2 separate regions of the Homo sapiens genome follow, and region 1 is linked to region 2. Evidence: promoter capture Hi-C in 16 types of primary human blood cells and fetal thymus (Javierre and others, 2016). All regions are on one chromosome and are shown on one strand. Each heading gives the region's core, a stretch centred on a gene start or on the middle of the fragment in contact. The rest is flanking DNA. Distances are from core to core; before and after follow the strand shown.

Region 1 (4,521 bases), core at 2,022-4,521, 200 kb after region 2:
GGTCGAGGCTGCAGTGAGCTGTGATTGCACTACTGCACTCCAGCCTGGGTGACAGAGTGACACCCTGTCAAAAAAAAAAAAAAAGAAGGAAGGAAAGAAAGAAAGAAAGAAAGAAAGAAAGCGAGCAACATATTGTATGATGTAACTATATGACATTCTAGAAAAGGTAAAACTATAGTGTAAAAGGTCTGCGGTTGCCAAAGGTTGGGGTGAGGGGAGGGAGTGAGGGATGAAGAGTTGAAGCAAAGATTTTTAGGACAGTAAAACTTTTATTTATATACATGACATTATGCATGTGTCAAAACCTATAGAACTATGTACAACATAAAGAATGAACCCCAATGTAAACTACGGACTTTAGTTAATAATGATGTATTAATACTGGCTCATCAATTGCAACAAATGTACCACTCTAATACAAGATGTTAATAATAGGGGAAATTGTGTGGAGGAGGGAGAGGGAATGTGGGAACTCTGTAATATCTGGTCAATTTTTCTGTAAACCTAAAACTGTTCTAAAAAATTAAGTCTATTGGCCAGGCACAGTGGCTCACACCTGTAATCCCAGCACTTTGGGAGGCCATGGCAGGAGAATCACTTGAGGCCAGGAGTTTGAGCCCAGCCTGGGCAACATAATGAGACTCTGTCTCTACAAAAACATTTTTAAAAATTAAGTCTATAATTTGAAAAAAGATTCACTGCAGTATATAAGGCTCTAGTATCACTTCTTTAAGGAAATCTTTCCTGCTCTCCCATCATATTCCCAAGATGGGTTAGGTGCTCTTCTCCCAAGCTCCCATAATACCCTGCACATATATTTATTTCTATGGTTGCACCTACCACATTGTATTTTAACATTTATCTGTATCGCTGTCAGTTCATAGCTGTGGTTTGCTGACGCTTGGCCTAGAATGCAGAGATGGTGAAATAAGCTAATCCATTGAACCCTTTAACAGGCACCTAGGAATGCCTGACAAAGGGCACTTCTGTTCCCTCAATGCACTGTTGATGTCATTTGTGGTATAATCATTATTAGCCCTCTGGTCCATTAGGCTATTTTCTGGATGACGGCATAAGGCACAGTCTTGTGACATTAAAAGTTACTTAGCCTGAGTAGTCTCTAGATTACTGGTCTAGGGTCTGCCAAAGACGATCCTCATGGGGAAGTTTTTGCACTAACCTCTCCAGGATTCAAATCCAATGGTTTTGACCCAAAACCATGCTGTTTACGTTACACAACACGTTCTCAATCTTGTTCAACTTAAAAGGTGGCACAGTACAGGGGTCACTGGCACACATGCCTACATGACAGATAACATAAGTGACAAAAGCAGACTCAGGTCGAGAAGGGTCCCTGGCATTTGGGAAAGTCCATGCCCAGTCTAGAACAGGCAGCCACTCCTTGGCTTCAGCCAATTGTTGCCACACAGAAATGTGGACACAGTGTTACCAGACAAGGCAGAGAGGCAGATTTCTGTTCACACAGAAACTTTTCAGTTTAAAAAAGTGTTGGCAACTAAGTCAAACTGCTTAGAAATACTGGAGATGGCATATTGGGAGGGTAAGGAATCATCCAATTGAATTGGGGTATTTACGATGGGGGAGAAATAGCAGCTAAAGGATAAGGGCAGCTTTTGGAGAACCCTGATTGTCACACTCAAGGAACTTATATATTGTCATCTAGGTCTGAGTGCACACTAAATAATTTAAGCAAGAACAGGACACGATTAGAATGGTATTTTTAAAAGATCACTTGGCAGTTGACGGGCGAGGCTGAGACCAAATGGTGAATTAGAAGTCTGTCATTTAGCTAAGTAAGGGTAAAGGCAAGACGGCAAAGGCCTATTTACTTGGCTTTTTCTCCTACCCGACTGCAAACTCCAAGACAGCAGGGCCCCACCTGCCTTGTTCATTGCTGTGTCTCCAGCACTAAGCAAAAAGCCTGTTCAACATTTGTTGAAAGAATAAATGAACAGGAGAGAGGGAAGGCGAGAGGCATTTTGAAGGACTGAGTTTAAAAATCAACTACCTTGAAGCCGGTCGAGGTGGTTCATGTCTGTAATCCCAGCACTTTGGGAGGCTGAGGCGGGTGGATCACCTGAGGTCAGGAGTTTGAGACCAGCCCGGCCAATATGGCGAAGCCCCGTGTCTACTAAAAATACAAAAACTAGCCGAGAGTGGTGGCATGCACCTGTTATCCCAGCTACTCAGGAGGCTGAGGCAGGAGAATTGCTTGAACCTGGGAGGCAGAGATTGCAGTGAGCCAAGATTGTGACACTGCCTGGGCGACAGAAAGAGACTCTGTCTCAAAAACAGAAAACAAAACAAAACAAAACAAAACAAAATCAACTACCTTCAGAGGAGTAGAATGTTGGTAATTGTGAGAGCAGTCATGGAGGGGAGGGGAGCCATGGAGGCCTGTTTCCTTCCCTGAACTTCCTCAACGAGGGGGCATCTTAAAGAAGAAATCATGTACACAGATTTTTGTGGGTTTTTTTTGGAGACAGGGTCTCACTCTGTCTCCCAGGTTGGAGTGCAGTGGCATGACCATAGCTCACTGCAGCCTACAACTCCCGGCCTCAAGCAATCCTCTCACCTCAGCTTCCCAAAGTGCTGAGATTACAGGCGCGAACCACTGCGCTCGACCCTACACAGGTTTTTTAAAAAGACGTTTGTGCATTGGATTCCTGGCACTTCACGTGGCCTCTTCAGTCTACCAAAGAAGGAAAAGGTAAGTACCCTGAAGGATTGAAAGGATTAAATGAACATTGAGGGATGAGCAATTTCTGTTCTTCCCTGGCTCCAGCATTACCAAAGCACACAGTAAGAGGACTGACATCGGCCTCCGACCCAGTGAGGATTACTTTCGGGGTGGAGGGGGAACTGCTAAACCTCGAATCTCCGGGACTGGCCCTGGCGCGTTTCCAGTCCCAGCAGAAAGGGCAATCCCCATCCAGACCACACTCCTAGTCCTCCTTATTCCCACACAGCCCGTATCTTGACCACCCCCAGCTCCGCCCTCTCTCCTCCCACCTCCTTTTCCCGCTCCCCCGCCCCATTTCCTTCTTCTCCGCCCACCTCCTCCTGGGTCCCTCCCCCGGCCATCCGCCCTGCCCCGGCCCCTGCAACCCTGCCTTTCGCTCTTCTTCCTCCTCCCTTCCGTCTGCGCCCCTCCCGTGGGGCCGTGGCAACCCCGTGCCTCGCTTGCCCAATGAGAACACGGTTTGGGGCGGGGCGCGGCCAGGACCGGAGCGGAAGTGGCGATCGGAGCGGAAGTGGAGCTACCGCCACCGCCGCCGCCGATTCCGGAGCCGGGGTAGTCGCCGCCGCCGCCGCCGCTGCAGCCACTGCAGGCACCGCTGCCGCCGCCTGAGTAGTGGGCTTAGGAAGGAAGAGGTCATCTCGCTCGGAGCTTCGCTCGGAAGGGTCTTTGTTCCCTGCAGCCCTCCCACGGTGAGTGCGGCGCGGGGTCCGACCGGGGCCCCCGGGGGCCCAAACTCGAAGCCCCTCTCTGGCTGCTGCGACGACGGCGGCCCAGTGGGTGGGCCCCGTGGGGTAGCGGCGCGCTGCCTCTTTCGCTCCGCGCGGCCGCCGGCGGCGAGGCCAGACCTCGCAGCGGCCCCTCCCTGTTTCCGGGGCCGGGCCCTTTACCTCTTGGAGAGGCTCGGGCCGCCTGAGGTCCTGCCGGCCGGGCGGGGTGCAACTCCGTACTGTGCCGTAAGGGACAGCGGAGCCGGGGATCCCGGACCCTCCCTCACTATCTGCTTCGGGCCCCACGCGACCCCTCCCTGCGTCTTGGTCGGCAAGAACGTCCCCTTCAGCCCTGTCACCTCTGCTCCGTGCTTTCTGGTTTCCAGAAATTAAAATTTAATCAAACGCGGATGAGTTTTCTAGCCCCAGTCCCCGTGTTTGGCTCCTCCTGGATGAGTAAGGGGTTTAACCTTGGGAGACAGCAGTGGGGGAACCCCCTCCCATTTTGCAGTAAAACCATTTCATCATCCTTCACTGGTTATGGAGCCTGGCAGGACCCAAGATTCCCTAGGAAGGGAATTGGGTTTGAATCAAGAAAATCTGTTTGTTGGAGCCGGTTACTGAGTCAGGCCGGATCCCCAGGAAAAAATATCAGGGGGTGAGAATCGGAGTATTTTCTCACAGTATTTACCGTCATTTAATGCCAGATTCTTTTGTGTCTTTACCCCAAATTCCCCCATATTGTGTGTTAGCACGTTTTTCGGTCTGAAATTTGCCCGGTGGCTTCCTGGTCGGGGGGTGGGGAGCGGAGGGAAGAAGAGGTGGGAAGGTGAGTGCATCTTTGCCGCAAATGGAGAACTCCCATATAATGGGGTTTTCAGAGGTGGCAGCCTTGGTAAGCAATTTGCCAACCTTTCTGTAAAATACATGTTTCTTGTCGTTGCCTTCATTGCATTTCTCTTTGGTAAGGCTAGATAGCATCAGGTCCTGATTTTGCTTGCCCTGTGTGGGAGATGGAATTTGGCAAGATGATGCTATGAACATAAAATC
Region 2 (4,577 bases), core at 1,073-3,572:
TAGCTGGGACCACAGTGCACCGCCATGCCCAGCAAATTTTTAAAAAATTGTTTGTAGAGATGGGTTCTCCCTATGTTGCCCAGGCTAGTCTAGAACTCCTGGGCTCAAGTGATCCTCCCACCCTGGCCTCCCAAAGTGCTGGGATTACAGGCATGAGCCAGTGCGTCCAGGCCTGTGGTCTTTTATGACTGGCTTTGTTCACTTTTTTCATCCCTGTCAGCAATGTATGAGAGTTCTGATTTCTCTGATTCCTTACCAACACTTATTATTGTTTGTCTTTTTTATTGTAGCCATCCTCGTGGGGGTGTGTAGTGGGATCTCATTGTGGCTTTGATTTGCATGGCCTTGACGGTTAATGTTTCTGGTTTTTTTCAGTGGAATCCCCTTTATAAATTCTGGGACACCCTATTCCCAGTGTGGAAACACTAACCTGTTCCAAAGAAAGAAAAAAAATTCTAGATGGAAAAAGATGTTCATTACTGCGACATAACATTTCTTAATACAAGTGACTCGTCTATAGCAGTAGGTAGTTCCTAATTTTTTTTTTTTTTTGAGACAGAGTCTTACTTTGTCACAGGCTGGAGTGCAGTGGCATGATCTCAGCTCACTGCAACCTCTGCCTCCCGGGTTCAAGTGATTCTCCTCCCTCAGCCTCCCAAGTAGCTGGGACTACAGGAACATACCACCACTCCCGGCTAATTTTTGTATTTTTAGTAGAGATGGGGTTTCACAATGTGGAAACACTAGGCCACATTGTGAAATGTGGCCAGGATGGCCTCCATCTCCTGACCTCATGATCTGCCCACCTCGGCCTCCCAAAGTGCTGGGATTACAGGCGTGAGCCACCGCGCCTGGCCTATTATCTTTAATAATTATAAATACTGGGCTGGGCGTGGTGGCTCATGCCTGTAATCTCAGCACTTTGGGAAGCCAAGGTGGGCAGATCACTGGAGGTCAGGAGTTCAAGACCAGCCTGGCCAACATGGTGAAAACTCATCTCTATTAAAAATACAAAAATTACCCTGTCATGGTGGTGCATGCCTGTAATCCCAGCTACTCAGAAGGCTTAGGCAGGACAATCGCTTAAACCTGGGAGGCGGAGGTTGCAGTGAGCCGAGATTGAGCCACTGCACTCCGGCCCAGGCGAGAGAGTCAGACTCCATCTCAAAATAATAATAATAATTATAATAACTATAAAGACCAGCTATCATATGGAAAATGTCCCTGATGTGTGAACAAATGCAGGATGGAAAAATACTCAGTGTAGTCATTTTAGCTAATATATATTTGTTAAAACATCCAAATATTTTTTTCGAGCTCGGCGCTGTGTGCCAAGCTCCATGCTGGCTCATGGACAAAGTCAGGAAAAGAACAAGCAAAAATGAAATTCCTTCTTGTGTCGGGAGTGGTGGGGTTTTGGGGGACAGGTATCTCCCCTTCCCCATGTTTTCTTCTCAAACTTCCTCCACTGTTGTTATATTACCTTTGCAGTGATAAAACCAAGAGAACAGAAGAAATACTTCTGGACCTAAGGATGAAAGAATGATGGGAGAAACATTTCTTGAGCCAGTCCCTTTCTGCGTTCTTATTTTGTGGAATCCGCACACATCCCCGAGAAGCTTAATAAAAAGGGCTACTATCATGACACTTACTGTGTGCCTTGCCGGTTCCACCTGTTAGGTGCCATTGTTGTCCCCATTTTACAGATGAGGAAACTGAGGCGGGGCAAGGAGATGCCCTTCTGCTTGGTGGTCTATCCTTCAGCATTACCCACACACATGCAGAGCTACATATAAGCTCACGTTCACACTCGGATTCACGTCTGCACCCATGGGCACATGGAGGATCGCACAAGCCACACTCAGACACACATGTGTGCTCACACACAGGGCTGCCCATGTCCACAGGTATGTGCATGGGGACACGCATGTATATATGTGCATATTCCCATATGCACACAGCACAGGTCAAACACTTTTGGACACACATCTGCCTGAGAATGGGAAAAGGGGTGCAAGATAAAGGGGCAAAGTCTGGCTTTTGCCTCCTCCCTGCACCTGCTACCAGCTGTGTGCAGGACTGGGTGGGGCAGAAATAGGTGGCTCTGAGCTCAGAGGGCAGAGGTGGCCTTGCACTAGAAATCCACCTGCCAAACTTCCAAATGGGCTACAGCGACTAAGGGGCCTCACCTGCTGGGCAAATCCCCCAGCTGGAGGGTGTGCTCCAGATCCTCCAGGGGTCCCCAGGGGGTTGAGAAGATGAGGGGCACACCCAGCAGCCCCTAAGGGAGGAAGCGTGGCCATACTGGCTAAGGGGGCGCACTCTTCTTGCAGGCCGCCTGATCAGATGCCTGTAAAATAAGACAGCTTTACAAAGAGGGTGTCGGAATGTGAGGAGGCAGAGGGACAGGCATGAGTAGAAAGACCTTCCTCAGGACCTGAAGTCCAATGATCCTGGTCCTGCGTCCCACTAGCTAGGTGATATTGAACAAGTCACATAACCTCTTTGAACCTCAATTTCCTCATTTGTAAACTTTGCACAAATCATTTCTTTGACTGCTAAACAAGTATGTTTTGAGGACCAACGACATGCCAGGTACGGTGCTGGGCACTGGGAAAACAGCAGCAAGCAACACAGACATGGGCTTGCCGTGTAGAGCCTGCAGAATTAGGGAAAGGATAAATGGAAACATCTCACACATAGTAAGTGCTCAGTTACGTTCCTCCTGGTCTCTCTTTTCTACCATTGTAAAGGCGATGCAATAACATAGAAAGTTGGGAGAATGGGGTGGCGGTTGCTGAGGGGGGAACTCTGTCATCCAGAATCCCACCACCCCAACACAATGACTAGCTTCATTTTTGCCAATTTCATCAGCTCATGCAGGGGTTGACCTGCTGTAGGGCACTCAAAATATTCAAACCAATTAATGCATTGCATTTGTGATCAGAAGAAAAAAGCTAATTACAATGTAACAGATTTACCTGATGCAAAGCAACGCAAGCATGGCCATCCCTCTGCATATATGGAAGCTTTTCCTTTTGGGGGAAACAGCAATATTTCCATTTTACGGAAAAAGAAATGGAGGCACAGAGAGGTCAAGGCACTTGCCCAAGGTCACACAGACAGAAATGCGAAGAGCAGCTCCAGAGGCCAGAACTCCTGCCCATCCTGTCCAGGACTGTGGGATGCATCCAGGGACGGACACTGGGGCTGTGGGCTGGATGACTTGGCTGCCTTTGCATTGATTGGAGCTGTTTAGGGAACCTACCCCAGCCACTAGCATCCAGTCCTAGAGACACAGAAAATTCACTGGCCAGCCTCACTTTTGAGCCCAGAAACCCCTTACCCTTCCTCCTGCCTCTTGAGAGGCCAGTGTTAGGTGTTAGCCGGGGTGCAAAGCTCTGGAAGGCAGGTTTCTGCTTTCTGCTGCCCTCCAGTGGGCAAAGAAAGCAAACCTCTGGATCCATCTGGAAGCAGGTAGCAGGTGTTGCCCAAGTCAGCTGCGGCTAATAGTAATAATAATGGCTGCCGCTCAATGAGCACTTACCACGTGCAGACGTTTTTACACCTAATCTAATGTAACCTAACCCCTTTAAGCAATTTAATTAACATTTAATTCCTCTCTCAAGGTAGGAATCACTTCCTATATACCCATTTACATACATAATCTGAGACTTAGAAAAATGACTTCCCAAAGTCACAAAGCTGGTCAGTGGCAGAGCCGAGAGTGCAAGTCCTTGGAGATCAGAGGAGGAAGAGACCATGATCCTGGACCAGGAGACAGCCCTGCATTCTTGGGCACAGAGGTGAATTTACTGTGAGGCTGGTGACGCATCAGGGCTCCTGACTTGCATGTCCTCTCCCAGGGCCATGGAGGAACTTTCCAACGCATTCGCATGGGCATATGTTTCACATTTGCAAAACTAACACATTTCAGTTGCAATTGGCTGAGACCACTATCTCTCTCCACTGCCTAGAATAATGTCTTCACATAGTAGGTAATAAATATGTGCTAATAAATCCATTTTGTGTTTAATAAATCATGTTGAATGAATGGGTAGAGAAATGAAGGAAGGAAGGAAGTGGCATTTAGTTCAATCTTGAAGGAAGGGCAGGATTTGAGAGAGCGTTCCTCATGTAGCCTAGTGGGCCCCTCCACACACAGACCATCCAAGGCCATGAGTGGCCTTGAATGCCAGGGTGAGGAATCTGGCCTTAGGTGGTAGGCACTGGGGAGCCATGGAAGGTTGCAGAGCAGAGGAAGGATATGAGTGTAATTGTCAATTAGGCAAGAGTTGAATGTCAAATAAGAGGACAGGGCCCTACAGCGGGGGGCCAGAGTGGCTCAGATAAAACTCCCCTCATCCAGCACCACACAGAGAGCTGGTGCTCAGCCAGTGTGATCACAGAAGCCTCTGCTGGGGTGTCTATAAGCTCCCTGGAAGAAGATATCCAAATGCTTTGCATGTGTGGCTTTGTGTATGTGTGTGTGTGGGGGGGGGAGGGGAGGTGCTGAGTGTGGATTTGCTCAGCACTCTAGTGTGCCCAGCCCAACGTGGGGGAAAGGTCAAGGCCCT

The links. The method cuts DNA at HindIII sites, captures the fragments that hold promoters and counts their contacts. A CHiCAGO score of 5 or more calls a contact.
Region 1: the fragment with the promoter of YWHAB here is called in contact with a fragment that was not itself captured in region 2 in 2 of 17 cell types (M2 macrophages and M0 macrophages); the score reaches 6.5 in M2 macrophages.

Annotation. Positions count from the first base shown.
Region 1 is chr20:44,882,434-44,886,954 of GRCh38, forward strand. YWHAB (tyrosine 3-monooxygenase/tryptophan 5-monooxygenase activation protein beta) reads left to right here and starts at 3,272. Exons shown (of 6, transcript NM_139323.4): 1 at 3,272-3,453. RefSeq lists silencers at 2,896-2,955, 3,016-3,565 and an enhancer at 3,002-3,618. The HindIII fragment of the contact is 6,156 bases long and covers 1-4,521 here.
Region 2 is chr20:44,680,288-44,684,864 of GRCh38, forward strand. No RefSeq gene overlaps it. Among named protein-coding and RNA genes, the nearest start is that of LINC01260, 11 kb to the left of the region's middle. RefSeq lists a silencer at 3,300-3,359. The HindIII fragment of the contact is 1,410 bases long and covers 1,618-3,027 here.